Regions from separate parts of the Homo sapiens genome. Here all the other regions are linked to region 2. The links are contacts of gene promoters, found by promoter capture Hi-C in blood cells and fetal thymus (Javierre and others, 2016). All regions are on one chromosome and are shown on one strand. The core of a region is centred on a gene start or on the middle of the fragment in contact, and the rest is flanking DNA. Distances in the headings are between cores, read along the strand shown.

Evidence for each region. Contacts are between HindIII fragments. The CHiCAGO score rates a contact against its expected background, and 5 or more counts as called.
Region 1: a fragment that was not itself captured here is called in contact with the fragment with the promoter of PRPF39 in region 2 in 12 of 17 cell types (total CD4 T cells, activated CD4 T cells, total B cells and 9 more); the score reaches 23.9 in total CD4 T cells.
Region 3: a contact is called between a fragment that was not itself captured here and the fragment with the promoter of PRPF39 in region 2, in 9 of 17 cell types (total CD8 T cells, naive CD8 T cells, total B cells and 6 more). The highest score is 15.8, in total CD8 T cells.

Annotation. Positions count from the first base shown.
Region 1 is chr14:39,120,981-39,123,680 of GRCh38, forward strand. GEMIN2 (gem nuclear organelle associated protein 2) reads left to right here. Exons shown (of 10, transcript NM_003616.3): 5 at 1,450-1,563. Among named protein-coding and RNA genes, the nearest start is that of GEMIN2, 8.0 kb to the left of the region's middle. The HindIII fragment of the contact is 5,325 bases long and covers 1-2,700 here.
Region 2 is chr14:45,082,715-45,085,414 of GRCh38, forward strand. PRPF39 (pre-mRNA processing factor 39) reads left to right here and starts at 1,402. Exons shown (of 14, transcript NM_017922.4): 1 at 1,402-1,535. It overlaps PRPF39-DT (PRPF39 divergent transcript), which reads right to left and starts at 1,312. Exons shown (of 2, transcript NR_184211.1): 1 at 758-1,312; 2 at 334-673. RefSeq lists a silencer at 1,107-1,396. The HindIII fragment of the contact is 5,294 bases long and covers 1,080-2,700 here.
Region 3 is chr14:39,439,561-39,442,260 of GRCh38, forward strand. All of the region lies in intron 1 of LOC105370461 (a long non-coding RNA gene), which reads left to right. Among named protein-coding and RNA genes, the nearest start is that of FBXO33, 8.5 kb to the left of the region's middle. The HindIII fragment of the contact is 8,991 bases long and covers 1-2,700 here.

The DNA.
Region 1 (2,700 bases), core at 52-2,551, 6.0 Mb before region 2:
TTGAGCTGAATGCTTCTCCCAAATAGTCCTGCGTCCTGCTTTTTCTGTCTGGCAGCATGAGTAGATCTGTTTCTTCTTTGACTGGACAACCCTTCAAATATGTGAAATATGTAATCATGTCTCTTTACATGGGATAAATATCCTTCATTCTATTAAGTGTTCTTGGTGCATTTTTTCCCCCATACTTATTTCTGTCTTTATCATCCTCTTTTGGACACACCATTGTCTGTCAGTGTCCACTAAAGTCTTGTCCAAACTAAACACATCTTGGCTGGGCACAGTGGCTCACACTTGTAATCCCAGCACTTTGGGAAGCCAAAGCAGAAGAATTGCTTGAGGCCAGGAGTTTGAGACCAGCCTGGGCAACATAGTGAGACAACTATCTCTACAAAAAAAATTTAAAAATTATCAGGCATGGTGGCACATGCCTGTAGTCCCAGCTACTCAAGAGGCTGAGGTGGCAGAATTATTTGAGCCCGAGATTCAGGCTGCAATGAACTGTAATCACACCTCTGCACTCCAACTTGGGCGACAGAGCAAGACCCTGTCTCAAAAAATGTAATAATAAGGAAAAACAACATGTCCCACATATTGTGTAGCCACTTAGGCACTATGTTTGTCAGGGCTGCCATAACAGACTAGGTGGATTAAACAACAGAAATGTATTTATTTTCTCAGTCTTGAAGGCTGAAAGTCAAAGAACAAGGTGGCAGCAAGGTTGGTCTCTTTTTGTTTGTTTGTTTGTTTTTTGAGGCAGAGTTTCGCTCTTGTTGCCCAGGCTAGAGTGCAATGACGCAATCTCTGCTCACTGCAGCCTCCGCCTCCCAGGCTCGAGTGATTCTCCTGCCTCAGCCTCTGGGTAGCTGGGATTACAGGTGTGCACCACCACATCCGGCTAATTTTTTTTTTTTTTGTATTTTTAGTAGAGGTGGGGTTTTGCCATGTTGGCCAGGCTGGTCTTGAACTCCTGACTTCATGTGATCGCCTGCCTCGGCCTCCCAAAGTGCTGGGATTACAGGCGTGAACCACCGCACCCGGCCTAAGGTTGGTCTCTTCTGAGGCTTTTCTCCTTGGCTTGCATAGGGCCACCTTCTCCCTGTTTTCTCACGTGGTCTTTCCTCTGTGTGTGGGAGTCCCTGGTGTCTCTTTGTGAATCCAAATTTCCTCTTATAAGGACACTAGTAAGATTGGATTACGGCTCACCCTAATGGCCTCAATTTAAATTAATCACTTCTTTAAAGGCCCTGTCTCCAAATACAGTCACATTCTGAGGTACTGGAGTTTAAGGTTTTAACATACAAATTTGGGGGCAGAGATTCTCCCCATAACTGGCTCCGTATCTTTGGGTTGCGGTAATGGGAATATGGAAGGACTTAACTTCTTTTTTTTTACTGTTCAGTGTAAAAATTAATACACAGGAATAAATCAGTTTTTTTTTTTTTCTTTTAGCCAAAATCTGAAGATGAAGAAGGCTGGAAGAAATTTTGTCTGGGTGAAAAGTTATGTGCTGACGGGGCTGTTGGACCAGCCACAAATGAAAGTCCTGGAATAGATTATGTACAAGTAAGGGCTGTGTGGATAAACAGAACAAAAAGCATTTTAATTTTGGTGCACCACTTAATATAAGGGGTCAGCAAACTCTACCCTGGGCCAAGTCCAGTTCATGGCCTTTTTTATATCCATGAGCTAAGGATTGTTTTTAGGTTTTGAAAGAGTAAAAAAGAAACAAATAATATGTGGCTGAGACTTTATGTGGCCTGCAAAGCCTAAAATATTTGCTGTCTGACTCTTGATAGAAAATGTTTGCCAACCCAGACTTAGTTTATTAGCTCTTCAACCTAACAAAACAGCTTAGTTTCTGAAACAATTTACTGTGACTTTTTTTAGTTTGGCTTCATATCCCTTATGTTTGGCTTGGTAATCATTTTATGAGTTGGATAAGATTCATAGTTTTTTTAAATGATGAGGCATCAGGCAAACAGTGTTATGAGTAGCCAGGGAAAAAATGGAAATCGACACAATTAGATGCTTTAAAATGCATAATCACATCTATCACTTCATGGGCCTGTAAAAAATAAATCACATATTCTAAAGATGAAATGTTGAGGATATCTTTAAAATTCATGTGGCTGTAATCATAAGTTATGTAGACAACTCCTTGTCCTTCAGGATTTACCTGCCCCCAAGTTTGCAGGTGTTCCTTGAGAATCCAGTGCATGCCTCTGCATTAGCGCTTACTCCCTATAGCATGTAGTTCTTTTCAGTTCAACAGGTATTTATTATTTGCTATATGGTGCCACATTGTGTTTTTCACATTTAAAACTAATTTTTCCTAAAAATGTAAAAAGCCCCAAGAATCAATAAAAAGACCAAGAATCACCCCTCCCCTGCCCAAGAAAAAATAGCCAAAGGATATAGATACCTCACAGAAAGGAAATAAAATTATTCTTATATGACAAGATGCCAAAAATCACTTGTAATAGAAGTATAACATAACTATGCCAAGGTGCTATTTTTCAGGTAACATATTGGCCAAGAAAGTTTGATACACCATATTGACAAGAGCTGGGGAAACAAGCACTCTTAGACGTGGTACAGGAGTATAAATAGACTCAAATCTTAGGGAAGTTAATTTGGTACTCTTTCTATATAACCAATTGATCTTTTGGATGATATCCTTAACATATGCTACATTTCAAA
Region 2 (2,700 bases), core at 152-2,651:
AGAGAATCCAAAAAAGTTAGCTTGGAAAGTAGAAGAGGCAAATGGAAAGGGAAAGCTACTACTAGGTGCAGTGTGATGCAAGTAAAAGGTAGGAAAAAAGACTGAATTTGGTATTTCGAACGAAAGGTGCTGGTGAGAGGATTTATGATTAACCTGCGTTGTGACAAGAAACGTCGTCTTGTAAATAAGTATTTCCAGAGGAGACAGATTTCAGATGAGGAACTTGGAGCCCAGTAGTAATACTAATGCACCTGGAACAACAGATTACATGGTAAGTGACAGGTGAATGCGGGGGCACCAATGTAACAGAATCTTAAAGGGAGAGAGGCCAGATTTGAAAGAAAATTTTTTTTTATTAAAGTGGAGATGGTGGTACAACTGAAGAGGACTGCTAAGATTGTTAACGCACAGTCCCCCTCAATTTGTCCAGAGGATAACATATCCCTTCAGATACAAAGATTTTTTTTTTTGCTTGGCCAACTTTAGTCAGGTTTCTGAATCTTCTGCTAGGCTCTTCTGTACACTTTCTTTGTAAAATCCAGTTTAAGCAAAGAACTTTGCTAAGTCAGATTAGCAATAAACCCCCATCCTTGATAGCTGATCATCCTCAATATCTGATCAGGTTCTTCAGTCTCCACCATCCCCCAGGTGATGCCTCATTATCTTGGCCTGTCTTCAGCAAAAATCCTATTAGGTGGGTTTAGCCAAAATCCCCCTTACCCTGATGTTTCCTCTTAGTAATTATACATTCACTTACCACCGCTCCTTGGCTATAAATCTCCACTTGCCCATGCTGTATGAGGAGTTGAGCCCAATATCTCTTTCCCTACTGCAAGTCTCCATTGCAGTCAGTGGTCCCTATACCTGTTGCGATGGTCCTGAATAAAGCCCTCTTTTTGTGCTTTAACAAGTGTCACTAAATACTTTTTTCTTTAACAATAGCCCGTTCTCCAAACCCCTAACTCCAGAACTGTTTAGTTTTCAGGAAACCTGAGTGGGCCCAGGGTCTATACCATCGTGAGATTTGTGGGTTTAAGGCTGAATTTCTGCCCGTTTTTAGGTAAATGTTTTAGTGTGAAAGCTTGAACAATTGTAGGGAAAACCTTAGATTTGCCCCCAAAAATGACATTTTGCCGTTTTTGGTGGGGAGGGGTCAGGGCGCTGTGTTTAAGATCAGGCGTGTGAAAGCCCCTAAACGCCCTCCTTTCCTTTGGGAAGTCCCTATGGAGGGAAAGGCAGGTAGGCGCAGCGGTCCCCGCCCTCGCTCGCGGCGGGGCGGGGCGGGGCTGCGGGGGCGGGGCTGGGGCCGCACGGGCAGCGAGGATCCCTGGGAGGGCCAGGCCTGCGCGCTGCGAACCCACGTGACTTTTTCGCCTCCAGGGACACTGACGCATGCGCATCGTGCCCTGGACCAGGCGGCCGTGGCGCGGGTGGCGGCTGCTGTGCTGGCTGTGGGGACGGAGGCGGTGAAGTGCCATCTTCGGCTAGGTCGTCACAGGCTCCGGCTCATGGCATCAAGTGGCATCCATCATAAGGTCTGCTGGGGCGGGCTCCTTGAAATTAGCTGGGGCAGAGGGTGGTACTTGGTACTGAAAGGGGCCTGCCGGGTTTCAGGCCGCGCTCTGGCCGCGGCCTCCCTCTCCCGCCCTGTTTGAGGCCTGGCTCGGATTCAGCGCTCAGCTGTCCATTCCTTTCTCCTTCCCACCTGTTGGGTGGAGCGGTGCAAGGTATTTTTTTCTTAGACCAAACGTTTCACTTGAGGGGTGCGTTAGGTAGGGTGGAGAAGTGTGGGCCTCCTTCGCCTGGATTTAGGAAGATATTTGGGGGTAATTCTAAAGCCCTTGCTTCTCCCGGAGCTGGAACACGGCTGGGGTGGCTGGAAGTGGAAGGAGCACATTTGCAGCCGCCAGAGGATTGGGAAGATAATATACGTTCTATTACTAAGGCATGTGAGCGCCTTGTAGGGCACGTTCTGTCTTCTGACTACATAAGCAACACTTTTGCGACCCTAAGTCACAGCACCCACAGCTTTTGGCAGGATACTTTAAAACAGAAAAAACACATCATTGATCCTGGCAGGATTTTTTAAGGGATTGTGCTTAAGAATGTTTAACTTTGGTAATCAGAGACCACCACTGGTGTTTTTCTCCAAAATCACATCTTTAAGTTAATTAATACTTGAAGTTAATAAATAATACTGCTCAGTGTATTAGTAATGATGCCATAATACCATGTGAATTTATGCTGATTCAAATGTTGTTTTTTTCGTTTGATACTCATATGGCCTTCTGTTTGAGGACTTCAGATTATTTAGCAACTGATTTAATCTGTTCAGAAATAAACTTTGCTACAGCTGGAAAGCGTGAGGCTTGAGAAAGCAAGTTTTGGACAGGGACGTATGAAGCTCATGTTGAAACTTAAGTGTTTTAGGCTGTATGGGAGCTTGAATGGAGTGAAAAGAACAAGCGTCTACTGTCAGGTTTTCCTCCTCCCTCTAGATTTATAACCTCATTCTAGAGTTGCAAAAGTTGGAACTTTCCACTGTTCACTCTCTAGTAGGGATAAAGTGATGGAAAGGAGTTCTGTTAAAGAGGACTAGTACTTAGATTGTGAACTTTGAAGTAGGGGTTGAGCATAGATGGCTCATAGGTGGTATGAGACACTATTTGTGTAAAGTCTCAGAATATTTTTCCTTGCTTA
Region 3 (2,700 bases), core at 86-2,585, 5.6 Mb before region 2:
CTTTTTAACTGATTAACTTTAGACATCATCTGTTTACTCCCTTTTTGTAAAATATGAAGATGTATTTCAATTACATTACTCTCTTTCCCTCTTCCATATTCCTACCAATATTTGATAATCGTAATATTTTGTTTTTCTCTTGGTTTTTTTTTTGGAGATGGAGTCTTGCTCTATTGCCAAGGCTGGAGTATAGTGATGTGATCTTGGCTCACTGCAGCCTCCATCTTCTGGTTCAAGCAATTCTCCTGCCTCAGCCTCCTGAGTAGCTGGGACTCCAGGTGTGCATCACCACACCTGGCTAATTTTTGTATTTTTAGTGGAGATGGGTTTCACCATGTTGGTCAGGCTAGTTTTGGACTCCTGGCCTCAAGTAATCTTCCTGCCTCAGCCTTCCAAAGTGCTGGGTTTATAGGCATGAGCCACCGTGTCCAGCCTCTTGGTTGTTCTTACATTAATCAGCTTTTGCTACATAGCAGTCACAATCTTCTGTCTATAATTGGCTAGATTATAGTATGTTAGATAAATATTAGGCAAATATTCACTTTTTTCCCCTTTACCCACCTTTATGGAAAAAGCATACTTTCTCCCATGATTATTGATGTTGGATTTGGGTCTTACGATTTGTGTAAAGTTAATTTTTCCTGTCTTTCGTTTATAAGAAGGGCTCTAATTAATAAAGATGCTAGTTTCTATAAAAGGGAAACCTGAAGATCTTAATGTCAACAAAATAGCCGTGTATTTTTTCACTCCTTTAACTGTCCACTGAAGGTGTTCTTAGCAGGCGGCTTTCCTTCATGTGATGATTCAGTGACCCTAATTCCTTCTGTTTTATAGTTATACCATCCTTAAAATGCCCTGTGATTCTCTGTCTCTTGTAATGGAAGGGGAAGAGAGAATGGAGAAGGCACTTCTTAATTGCCGTAGCAAGGAAATGACAGATTACTTCCTACATTCATTGGCTAAAACTAGACACATGGTCTTGCCTAGACATAAAGGGTCTGAGAGATGAAGTTTTGCCACAAAGGAGGCCTATCCTTTTATTACTATTTTTGGCTGAAGGTAAATACTAGGGTCCTTGTATTTGCTGTGGACAGAGATGGAAGAAAACGGTGGATTTGTTTAGTATAGTTTTCTTGTATTCAGATCTTTAGTTAATCTCTATTCCTAGCTAACCTTCTCACTCTTTCCTTAATGTTCCTTAGAGATAGTTCCTCAGGTGCACTGAACCCAGAATCTCTAAGGTTTCAGTGCACAGGACAGCTTTTATCTCAATTGCAGCTTCCTCCTAGTGATGGTGGCGGCTCATCTGGAGCAGCTGCTGCGGTGAAGGCCGCTGCAGTAGGAGGGGGTGCACCTGGGGCTGTGCCCTCTGTGGAGCCCGTAGGGGGTGGGAACAGGTGATCCCAGTGGAAGCCTCACACTCTACCAAATTGGTGGGGCAGGAGCCTGCACTTCTAGGTGCAGCTGTAACCACCCAGCCATGGCTCCAGACCTGGGCATCCCTGTGCTCTCTGGGGCCCAGGGAGCCTCTTGCCCCCGCAAGTTCGGAAGTGCCTGCTCCCACTCTCCCTGGCCTCTCCCTGCTCTCAGTTTCCACTCTGGTGTGGAGCAAAGTTATAGCTTAGCCCAGGCACTGTCGTGACCCAGCCAGGTGTGTGCATGCCTGGGGCAACACTGACACACCAACTCCCACTGCCGCCTTGAGCACTGATGAGCTCAGAGGGAGCTGAAACTCTGAAACTTTGGGCACTGATGAACTCAAGAGGGAGACCGGGGGTGCTGAGGGCAGCTTGGTGTGGGCCTGTGGGCTCCCCTCAGCATGGACAGCCTGGGCACAAATGGCATGTTGATGGCAACAGGAGGCAGACAGATTCCTAGGTGGGAAGGGGCAGGTCCTTGGTGAAACCCCGTCTTGAAGCCAGGGATGGCCTGAAGCCTGGGGGCCAGGCTGCCAATTACGGGTGGAGTCCGCGGCCCAGAGTGAGAACTTACGGTGCTTTTTCCATGCCTGCCCATGGCTACCCATGGATCAATCAGCATGCACTTCCTCCCTTCTGAGCCCATAAAAACCCTAGACTCATGCAGACTCAGATACTCTTCAGGATGACCTGCCAGTGGAAAGGAGCTACCCACTACACGTCTTCTCTCTACTGAGAGCTGTTCTGTTGCTCAATAAATCTCTGCCTTGTTCACCTTCCAGTTGTCCATGTTACCTCATTCTTCATGGACATGGGACAAGAACTAGGATATCACTGAATGGTAGGTGTGAAAGGAGCTGTAATGCTTTCCTGGCCCGCTTGCCAAGCTGCAGGCAGTGACACGCTCCTGGACTATGAGAGTGAAGAGTGGTAACCCTTCTGGGGACCCAGACCTTGGGATTTCCTGAGGTAGAGCTGCTGTAACACTGTAGCACTTCCACCCTTTGTTGGCGCCGGGTGGCCGCCCCATGCAGTGGGAAGCAGCAGTGGGGCTGGGCCAGCCACGGGCTGCAGTTGTGGTGGTGGGACTGAAAGAGCTATAACACAAATGGGCTTAAACACTCCCCACTGAAACTTGCTGCCATCCCCTGCTCTCTGCACTGCAGGCAATGAGAAGGAGAGAAGAGCTGTAGCCCTTCTGGAAGCCCAGACCTTGGGGCTTCCTAAGCCAGAGCTGTGACATGCTATAACACCCTCTTTGGATGCTCTGTGGTTCCTGGCA